Regions from separate parts of the Homo sapiens genome. Here region 2 is linked to region 1. Evidence: promoter capture Hi-C in 16 types of primary human blood cells and fetal thymus (Javierre and others, 2016). All regions are on one chromosome and are shown on one strand. Each heading gives the region's core, a stretch centred on a gene start or on the middle of the fragment in contact. The rest is flanking DNA. Distances are from core to core; before and after follow the strand shown.

The links. Contacts are between HindIII fragments. The CHiCAGO score rates a contact against its expected background, and 5 or more counts as called.
Region 2: the fragment with the promoter of SOX18 here is called in contact with the fragment with the promoter of PTK6 in region 1 in 11 of 17 cell types (endothelial precursors, erythroblasts, fetal thymus and 8 more); the score reaches 9.8 in endothelial precursors.

Annotation. Positions count from the first base shown.
Region 1 is chr20:63,535,557-63,540,256 of GRCh38, reverse strand. PTK6 (protein tyrosine kinase 6) reads left to right here and starts at 2,881. Exons shown (of 8, transcript NM_005975.4): 1 at 2,881-3,172. The coding sequence starts at 2,943. SRMS (src-related kinase lacking C-terminal regulatory tyrosine and N-terminal myristylation sites) reads left to right here. Exons shown (of 8, transcript NM_080823.4): 8 at 1-1,768. RefSeq lists a cis regulatory region at 189, enhancers at 105-274, 2,693-2,782 and silencers at 1,823-2,092, 2,423-2,572. The HindIII fragment of the contact is 2,955 bases long and covers 614-3,568 here.
Region 2 is chr20:64,047,483-64,052,182 of GRCh38, reverse strand. SOX18 (SRY-box transcription factor 18) reads left to right here and starts at 2,544. Exons shown (of 2, transcript NM_018419.3): 1 at 2,544-3,024; 2 at 3,221-4,601. The coding sequence starts at 2,667. The coding sequence ends at 4,017. RefSeq lists promoters at 2,404-2,664, 1,767-2,664, 1,559-2,667, an enhancer at 1,992-2,673 and a silencer at 2,805-2,854. The HindIII fragment of the contact is 12,409 bases long and covers 1-4,700 here.

The DNA.
Region 1 (4,700 bases), core at 1,632-4,131:
GATGTGTGGTATGTAGGCACGGGGTGGCACCGTCACCTGCCCCTCACAGACACACTGGCGGCCTGTGCACAAACCCACTCACGCACACAGCACTCAGTAAGCCGGGACTGACCCACTCAGACACGCACACAGGCGCACATCACACACAGGCTCAGCCCCCCAAACCCAGACCCAGGAGCTGGAGCGTACGGGTCCACGTGGCTAGAAAATGCAGGTTGGAGCGGCCCCCATGCCGCCCGGACCCCCAGCCCAGGACATCATGGTGCCCAGAGAGCGTGAGCCCCAAGGGCATTGGCAGGAGCTGCCGATTCCATCTCCCTGGGTGGGTTCCAGGTGGCACAGGAAGGGTGGGCCGGGAGGCTTGGTGACCTGGGAGCTGCCCTTGGAGGCTATTTCCAGGGGCCTCAGGGTGGGCCGTGGGGGATTTGGAGTCTTCTGCCTGTGCAGGGTCAGGCAGGGTCGGTTGGGGGCTCGGAGGTAGATGCCATGGTATGCTGGGCAGCAAGTGGCTCAGGAAGCCTCTGGGTGTGAGTCCTCGGGGGTCACCAAGGCAGGAGGGGGCAGGGATGTGCAGGGTCCGCCCTCGTCTCCCCACGTCTGGCTCAGGGAAGCTTCTGCTCAGGTCTTCGTGAAACACGTCAAGAAGCAAGGGGGCCGGTGGGGTCTGTTTGTGGCCCCCGGAGACCCTGCCCCCCACCCTCCTGGGAGCCCAGGTTGGCAGCTGTGCCCAGAAGGCTTTCGGGGACAGAAAGTTTGGAGACAAGTTCAGGCCTGACTGAGTCCTTGTCCCCTAGAGTTGGGGTCAGCTCTGTACCTGCTGAGCCGAAGTGCTGATGGCTGCCGTCCACAGGCCCCGGCCAAAGCCTGGCTCAGGAGGGAGCTAAGAGATGAGACTCCCGTGTGCAGAGACAGGTGGCCCCGGGGAAGGAAGAGGCCACTCGGAGGCTCCGAGAACGGAGGCAGCGCGGGGGCTTCCTGGGGCCCGTGCATCGGAGGAACAAGGCCAAGCGGAGGGAAGCAGCAGGAACCAGGACCCCTGCAGATGGTGGAGGCAAGAGGCTTTATCTGAGCCTTTGGGACCCTGGCCACCTGCCCAGCTCCATCTGCATGGGAGAACCTAGGGGAGGGGCTGGTTCTGGTACCTGGGCCCACTGAGGCCTTGAGCTGAGCTTCCAGTTCTGGCAGGTCCCCAGCACAGCAGCCTGGGGGCTCCTCTGGCACAGAAGGCCTCGCCCTCTGTGCTCTCTGCAGCCGCCACTGGGATTAAGGGGACCAGGTGTGTCTGTGGCACCTGTGCCCTCCTAGGCATCTCGCCAGCCACCAGCTGAACAGGTTTGGTGCTCCTGGGTATCTGGGAGGGGCTGGGGACGTTCCTGCCTCCTGGTGTGGCTTAGACTGAAAGTCCTGCACGTCCGAACTCAGGGATACTCGAGGCTTCCTGGACATAGACTCACGGGCCCAGAGTCTGGCCGGGCTCTGAGGGACGCTGCCCGGCCAGGTGCCCCGGCACCCTCCTTCCGCATTCCCCACCCCCCACCCCTCCCCCTGCATCCTCCCCAACCGACCCCAGACAGAGCTGGGAGGGCCTGAGGGACACTGCCCAGGCCGGCACCCCGCTGCCCCTCCCCACCTTGGTCAGCGCTGAGCTGGGCTGCCCAGAAATCTATGAGCCTGTTAAATAATCCAGATTATTGTTCTTAATCTCAAAACAATGAGTGGAAGGTGCCATTATTTCTCTTTGCAATAAAAATAAAAGTTGAAATACGCAGTTTAGGGACTTTCCTTACCACCCCTTGCAGACTTTGAATTTCCCTTCCCGCCCCTTCCTGCCCCCTTGTGGCTGCCAGTCCAGGTCCCTGGGTTGGAGCTCCCGGGTGGACACAGTAGGGTCAGTGGGAGGGTGGGGCGGGGAGGGGCCTCCAGGGAGGGGGTGTCCCGAGTCTCAGGGGCTGGGGGGCAGGCGGCCGTCGGGTGCAGGTGGGGGTCACGGCAGGGCTCACTCAGGCATGAGTCGGGAGAAGGGAGGCCAGCTGGAAGGGGGCAGGGGTCCTGCGGGCTGGACAGGAGGAGGCAGAGGCTGGAGGCGGGAGGGGCTGCCTGGGAGGGACCTGTGGCCTTGGGCCCCAGCGCCATGGGCGCTTCCAGGCCGCACTCACGGTCCTTGCCTGCCCCCTGGCGTCCGTGTGGAGGAAGGCAGTGCCCGTTTCTTCAGCCGTGGGTGCCCCTGGCTCTGCCTCCCCGGGGATCCCCCAAAACCCTCGGGCCCTCCTCTTCCGGGAAGTCCTCCGGGCCGACCCACACAGCTGTCGCTGCCCTGATTCCACTCCCTCTTCCCTGCTTGGCCCTTACCCGAGGGCGGGCCTGCCCATGAGGCCGCTCTCAGGACGCCTGCCCACAGCAGCTCCTGACATTGGGCCCTGTGCTCAGGGGTGGAGTCTGGGGCTGGGTGAGGGCACCGACGGGTGGAGGGGAAGCTGCCGGAAGCGGGGAGAGAGGCGGCCCCCACCTGTGCCCCCGCAGCTCTGAGGGTTGGGAAGGCAGCGCCTGCAGCCCTCACCTTCCTGCCCTCAGGCTGCGAGGCTTGTTCCCAGAGGGCCGTTGGCTTCCCTGAGTGCCTGAGTGTCCATAAGTTGGACCCCCAAGAAGCCCCAACCGGGAGGTCCTCCTCCCCCTCTCCTGCGCTCAGGCCGGCCCTGGCGGTGCTTGCCCAGTGGGTTCCCATAGTGCGGGCGCTAAGTGCTCAGATGGGCCCCAGTGGGCCTGAGGACTTGTGGGGCCGGCTGGGCCCTCAGGAGGAGCCGGGGTGCTCTGGAGCGCCTGTGGGTGCTGGGTGTGGCTGCTTCCCGGCCTGTCATGAGGAAGTGGGACGGCCCGCCTGCCACGCCCAGCTCTGGGTGCTCCAGCTGGGCCACAGCCTGGTCCTGCCGCTGCGCCCGCCCGCCATGGTGTCCCGGGACCAGGCTCACCTGGGCCCCAAGTATGTGGGCCTCTGGGACTTCAAGTCCCGGACGGACGAGGAGCTGAGCTTCCGCGCGGGGGACGTCTTCCACGTGGCCAGGAAGGAGGAGCAGTGGTGGTGGGCCACGCTGCTGGACGAGGCGGGTGGGGCCGTGGCCCAGGGCTATGTGCCCCACAACTACCTGGCCGAGAGGGAGACGGTGGAGTCGGAACCGTGCGTGTCCTAGGCTGCTGGGAGCTTTGGCACAGGCCACCCTCTAGGCACAGGGGAGGGACAGGGCTCTGGGCTGCTCAGGGAGGCCCAAGAAGGTGGGGACCCCGGTTCCATCTTCCTGCACCCCAAAGTCCAGGCTGGGCATCCCGCTTGATCCTCCCTGCAGGCCCCATGCGCTGGCGCCCAGGAGTGCCCAGGACTGTCCCTGCGGGAGTTGGAGCACGGGGGTCAGAGGGCACGGCCCCTGCCTTGGGCTCATCCTTGTCACAGCTCGGGGGTGGACGCTGCATTGCCGGGACCCAGGGAGGACAGAGGGTCCAGGGTGGACTTCTGGGGCCCGGTGGCCAGTGACAAGGTCTGTCGGAGCGTTCCAGGGCCTTTGGGGGAAACGAAGCTTGAAGCTTGCCCAGTTTCCAAAGTGCCGGAACCAGACACACGACCTAGTTAGGGGAGCGGGCCGGCTGCCGGGCAAACTTCCTGCCTGCTGTGCCCTGCGGGGAACCAGACAGCAGCTGGTGTGGCCTGGCCCTGGCTTCCACAGCTGCCCGGAGCTCAGGCTGAGGAGGGTCACGCTCCTGAGATCCCGCGTTTCTCATCAGTGATTGGGCACCCACTGTGTGTGTGCGTGAGTCACAGGCTGTGTAGGGTTAGCTCCCGGGGGACCCAAGCAACAAGCAGGGGAGGCTGTAAAGAGGCCGTCGGGCAGGGGCCCATGGTGGAGACCCCTCTATTACGTGCAGACCCACGACCTCGTTAGCAGGGTCACGCGCAGACCCACGACCTCGTTAGTGAGCAGGGGTGCAGGGGTGGGGTCTGGCCGGAGGCTGGTCAGCTCCCAGGTGCAAAGACCCTGAGTCCTGAGAACTCGCCCAGGTGAGAAGTGGGGAGGAGGCCAGGTGAGGAGGGGGTGGGAGGCCAGGTGGGGGGGGGAGCGGGAGGCTAGGTGGGGGGGGCTGGAGGCCAGGTGAGGGGGGGCGGGAGGCCAGGTGGGGGGGGCGGGAGACCAGGAGAGGAGGGGACGGGAGGCCAGGAGAGGAGGGGGCGGGAGGCCAGGAGAGGAGGGGGCGGGAGGCCAGGTGAGGAGGGGGCGGGAGGCCAGGTGAGGGGGGGGCGGGAGGCCAGGTGAGGGGGGTGCGGGAGGCCAGGTGAGGACGGGGTGGGAGGCCAGGTGAGGGGGGGGCGGGAGGCCAGGTGAGGAGGGGGCGGGAGGCCAGGTGAGGAGGGGGCGGGAGGCCAGGTGAGGGGGGGGGCGGGAGGCCAGGTGAGGAGGGGGCGGGAGGCCAGGTGAGGAGGGGGCGGGAGGCCAGGTGAGGGGGGGGGCGGGAGGCCAGGTGGTTGGAGGGGCAGGTGGGGCAGTGCTTCCAGGTGTGCGGAAGTGGAGGGGGTGGACCCCAGGGGCTCCATGCTGGGCCGTGGTCTTCTGTGTGGGGTTTGTGTTCCAGTGACCTGAGGGAGTCAGACACACAAAGGGCGCAGGTCACCTGGAGCTTCTGCAAGCTCCACCTGGAAGTCCACAGTCCAGGGCTGG
Region 2 (4,700 bases), core at 1,295-3,794, 510 kb before region 1:
CTGGGGCCCAAGCTCAGTGGCCAGAGAAGCCTTGGGGACCCTCCAAACTTCACGGAGCAGGACCCCTGGTCCTGGACCTATTATGGGTCCTCATCTCTTCCTGGGAACGTCCAGCTTGCCTGGCTCTCAAGGCCCTGGGCAGCCTCCAGCACTAGAGTCCCCCTCACCCCACACCCAGGCAGACAGACAGACACAGGCCACACACAGATGCACAGACACACATCGGATGCCCCTCCCTCAGCACAGCTGGCCACACCCACACCATCCCCTCTACAGCCCTGGCAAGTCCCCCCAGCCCTGCGGCTCCAGATCACGCCACCCTGGCTGTGGTCCCTACCCCCACTTTGTCCCATCTGGACACTGGGCCAGGGCTGCCAGCCTCCTCCCTGCCACGCAGAGGGAGAGGAGCACCTCAGGAGGCTCCCCGCCCAGCCCCGACTCACAGGACATGACAGCCGGACACCTGAGTCCACAGCCCAGCCAAGAGGGTGGGTCACTGGCTGGCGCCAGGCAAGGCGGCTGCTGGTGGGTGTTGTGGGGGACGTGGAGGCGATGAGGTCATGCCGGACACTGCCTGCCACTATGTTTAGAGCAGCTCCAGTGACTCTGGGCTCTCGGGGGTGGCAGAGGACCAAGCAGGGCCCCCAGGGAACTGCAAATCCTTCCCCACGTGTGAGGGCTACTGCAGAGGACCCCGAGGACCTCTTTCCCAGGCCGCAGTGACCAGCCACTGCCCAGGCTGAGCCAGGCCCTGGTGACCCCTGACTGCAACCCTAAGGTTGTGAGTAGAGAGAGCTTCCGCCAAGTGGTAGCCCTTTGGGGTCTTCGCACGGCTCCCCACCCCCCCTGCACCCTCCTGCCAGCTGCCCAGGAGGCCCACCCACACTGAGACTCGGCCAAGGGTCCAGCCACCCATACTGAGATTAAAGGAGGACTAGCAGCATCCGGCAGAGGCCTGTGAGCCCCTCCATCCCTGTGGCCACAACCCTGCCTGCCTCCCCAGAAAAGCCAGGGGCCGCACCTCCTGGTGCCCCACGGGCCCCCCATTAGCCAGCACTGGCTCAGTGTCTGTGAACGAGGTGCTAGGCCCGTGGGGCAAACTGGAGGGACGGGAGATCTGGAGACCAGACTGGGAGACCCAGCCCCGTATGCTGGGACGATGGGCGTCGAGACAGACTGTGATGTGGGGCTTTGGGGAGGGCTGGACACCGACCGCGACAGCCCTCGGTGGGAGTGCCCCTGTGGGGGTGCTGGCCTCAGGGCAGGAGTGCCCCTGGGGACAGTTCAGGAACAGCCTCTAAGGGGCACTGCAAGGCCCACGTGGGGCCCACCCCATTCATAACACAGGCTGGATGTGGCCTAGCGAGGCTGGCAGGGACAGAGAACCAAGAGCTTCTGGCCACACAGGCTCAGGGTCACAAGACCTGTGGCCTCTACCCATGGGGCTCCCGGCATAGTGTGGCGGGGGGAGCTGGGGAGCCTCCAGGCTATGAGGAGATGTGCCGCGAGGTGGCGAGATTCTGACCCTGCCTGGAGGGCTGCTGGGGACACCCAACCCTTCTCCAGTAGAACCATGCGTGGCAGTGGGAGGGGAGGACCTCCAGAGGGAGACCCTCAGCTCTGGAGCCCAGATCCCCTCCTGATGGAGTAGGAAGGGGACAGTGAAAATTCAGGAAGCTGGACGCTCCTCCGGAACCCGCCCCCGCCCAGGTCAGAGGGTCCAGGGAGGGGCCAGTGGGAAGGACCCAGGTAGGCCCTGCCTCTTGCTGCAGCGGTGGCCTGGGCTGGGCAGGGGAGCCAGCAAGCCACTGAGGGTCCCAGCCCCTTCCCCAAGGGCCCTTGGGGGGCAGGGAGGACGCCACAGCCTCTGCGTCCCTGCTCCCCCTTCTCTTTGTGGGCTCCGTCCAGGGCCTCTGCTCTCTCCCTCCCTGTGTCAGCTTTGCCTTGTGCCAGAGTTGGTTTGGGAGTGAGGACAGAAGACCATCTTGTCCCATAAAGGCACTCAAAGTCCCTGGTGCTGACGGTTACACATGGGTGTAGAGTTTCCAGCATGGGCGCCCCTGGGGACTCAGAGCGCCTCCCCAAAGACGGGGCCTTTTCTGAAGGCGCTGCACTCCAGGAAGGACTTACCGGCTGTTGGGAAGGCAGCCTCCCCAGAACTTGGTGTGAAAAAGGGCCCTCTCCTCCCCATGGAGCCTCCCAGCGGGGGGCGGGGAACGGCAACCAGCGGGACACTGCCGCCCTCCCCCAGTTACTGCCCGGGGGTCCGACTCCGTGGGTGGGTGGCAGCTCGCCTCCGAAAGTCTGGCAGCACCGGCCCTCATCAGCAGCCCTTTCTTTCCCACCCGGGGGGTCTCTCCTTCTGAGAGGTCGCGGGGGAGGTGGGGGGGCTGTGCGCGGGGGAGGCCTCAGCGGAATCCCGCCCGGCCTGAGAAGAAAGGGAGCCCCCGGGGAGGAGGCGGCCCCGACCCGCCCCCGCCCGCCCGCCCCGCCGCCGATTGGCCCTGAGCCGCTATATCTGGGCGCCCGCCCGGCCCGAGGCCACCGCCGTCCCCACCGCCATCCGCCCTCCCGGCCTGGCCTGCCCTTGCGCCCGGCTCCCCAGTGCCCGCCGCCCGCCCGCCGCGCTCCCGCGCTCCGTTCCGCCCAGGCCGCGCCCAGCTGGAATGCAGAGATCGCCGCCCGGCTACGGCGCACAGGACGACCCGCCCGCCCGCCGCGACTGTGCATGGGCCCCGGGACACGGGGCCGCCGCTGACACGCGCGGCCTCGCCGCCGGCCCCGCCGCCCTCGCCGCGCCCGCCGCGCCCGCCTCGCCGCCCAGCCCGCAGCGCAGTCCCCCGCGCAGCCCCGAGCCGGGGCGCTATGGCCTCAGCCCGGCCGGCCGCGGGGAACGCCAGGCGGCAGACGAGTCGCGCATCCGGCGGCCCATGAACGCCTTCATGGTGTGGGCAAAGGACGAGCGCAAGCGGCTGGCTCAGCAGAACCCGGACCTGCACAACGCGGTGCTCAGCAAGATGCTGGGTGAGCGGCGGGAGGGCGGCAGAGAAGGGGGAGAGGGCGGGGGGGGCTCGGGCCGGGGTGGGGCGGGGGGGGCAGGGGTCCCGGGCCGCGGGGTGCGGGGGCTGCGCCAAACCCTCGCGGGGCGTCCCGGGCGCACGGAGGGCTCGGCGCCCACCCGCCCGACGGCGTTCCACTCACTGGCGCCCACGGCCCGCAGGCAAAGCGTGGAAGGAGCTGAACGCGGCGGAGAAGCGGCCCTTCGTGGAGGAAGCCGAACGGCTGCGCGTGCAGCACTTGCGCGACCACCCCAACTACAAGTACCGGCCGCGCCGCAAGAAGCAGGCGCGCAAGGCCCGGCGGCTGGAGCCCGGCCTCCTGCTCCCGGGATTAGCGCCCCCGCAGCCACCGCCCGAGCCTTTCCCCGCGGCGTCTGGCTCGGCTCGCGCCTTCCGCGAGCTGCCCCCGCTGGGCGCCGAGTTCGACGGCCTGGGGCTGCCCACGCCCGAGCGCTCGCCTCTGGACGGCCTGGAGCCCGGCGAGGCTGCCTTCTTCCCACCGCCCGCGGCGCCCGAGGACTGCGCGCTGCGGCCCTTCCGCGCGCCCTACGCGCCCACCGAGTTGTCGCGGGACCCCGGCGGTTGCTACGGGGCTCCCCTGGCGGAGGCGCTCAGGACCGCGCCCCCCGCGGCGCCGCTCGCTGGCCTGTACTACGGCACCCTGGGCACGCCCGGCCCGTACCCCGGCCCGCTGTCGCCGCCGCCCGAGGCCCCGCCGCTGGAGAGCGCCGAGCCGCTGGGGCCCGCCGCCGATCTGTGGGCCGACGTGGACCTCACCGAGTTCGACCAGTACCTCAACTGCAGCCGGACTCGGCCCGACGCCCCCGGGCTCCCGTACCACGTGGCACTGGCCAAACTGGGCCCGCGCGCCATGTCCTGCCCAGAGGAGAGCAGCCTGATCTCCGCGCTGTCGGACGCCAGCAGCGCGGTCTATTACAGCGCGTGCATCTCCGGCTAGGCCGCCGGCGCCGCCCGGGTCCCTGCAGCGCTTCCTCCCGCAGCCCCCGCGACCGATCCGACCGCGTCGCTGCCGCTCTGCTCTCTCATACGCGTGTATGTTTGGTTCCATGTCACAGCCCCCTAGGAGCCAGTGATGCTCGGCCTTGCGCCCGTTCCACCTCCCAGGCCACCCTTCCTGGGCTTCTGGGCCACCTGCCCTCGGGGGGCCCCTGCGAGGGTGCCTGGAGTTCCCACGTGTCCCGGGGCTTTTCCAGGAAGCCCGAGCCCAGGACCTGTTGGCAGAGTTGCCAGGGTTACATTTTTGAAGCACCTGCTCCTTTTCTTGCAGTGTATTTTCTACAACCAGATTGTATTAATATTTTTTACTTTGCCCTTTTAAAAAATATACCTAATACAATATATTTAATTTTTAATTAAACTCTTAAACTTTTCTTCCAAGAAGTTTCAGTGATCAGAAGCGTCACTGTGGCAAAGACTTTTGCAATGTGAGGAATACAGATGTTTGCTTTCTATAAAGGAGGAGCCTGGAGCTGGGTCCCCGGACGGAGAGGCCACAATAAATCCTCGGGCCTTTCCTCTGCACACTGACATCTGTGGTGTTTGCAGGGAGGGAAAAGCAGTTCCCCAAATAGCCCTGGACGCCCCTTCCCTCCGAATCGCCCCCAGGGAGCCTGACTCCTA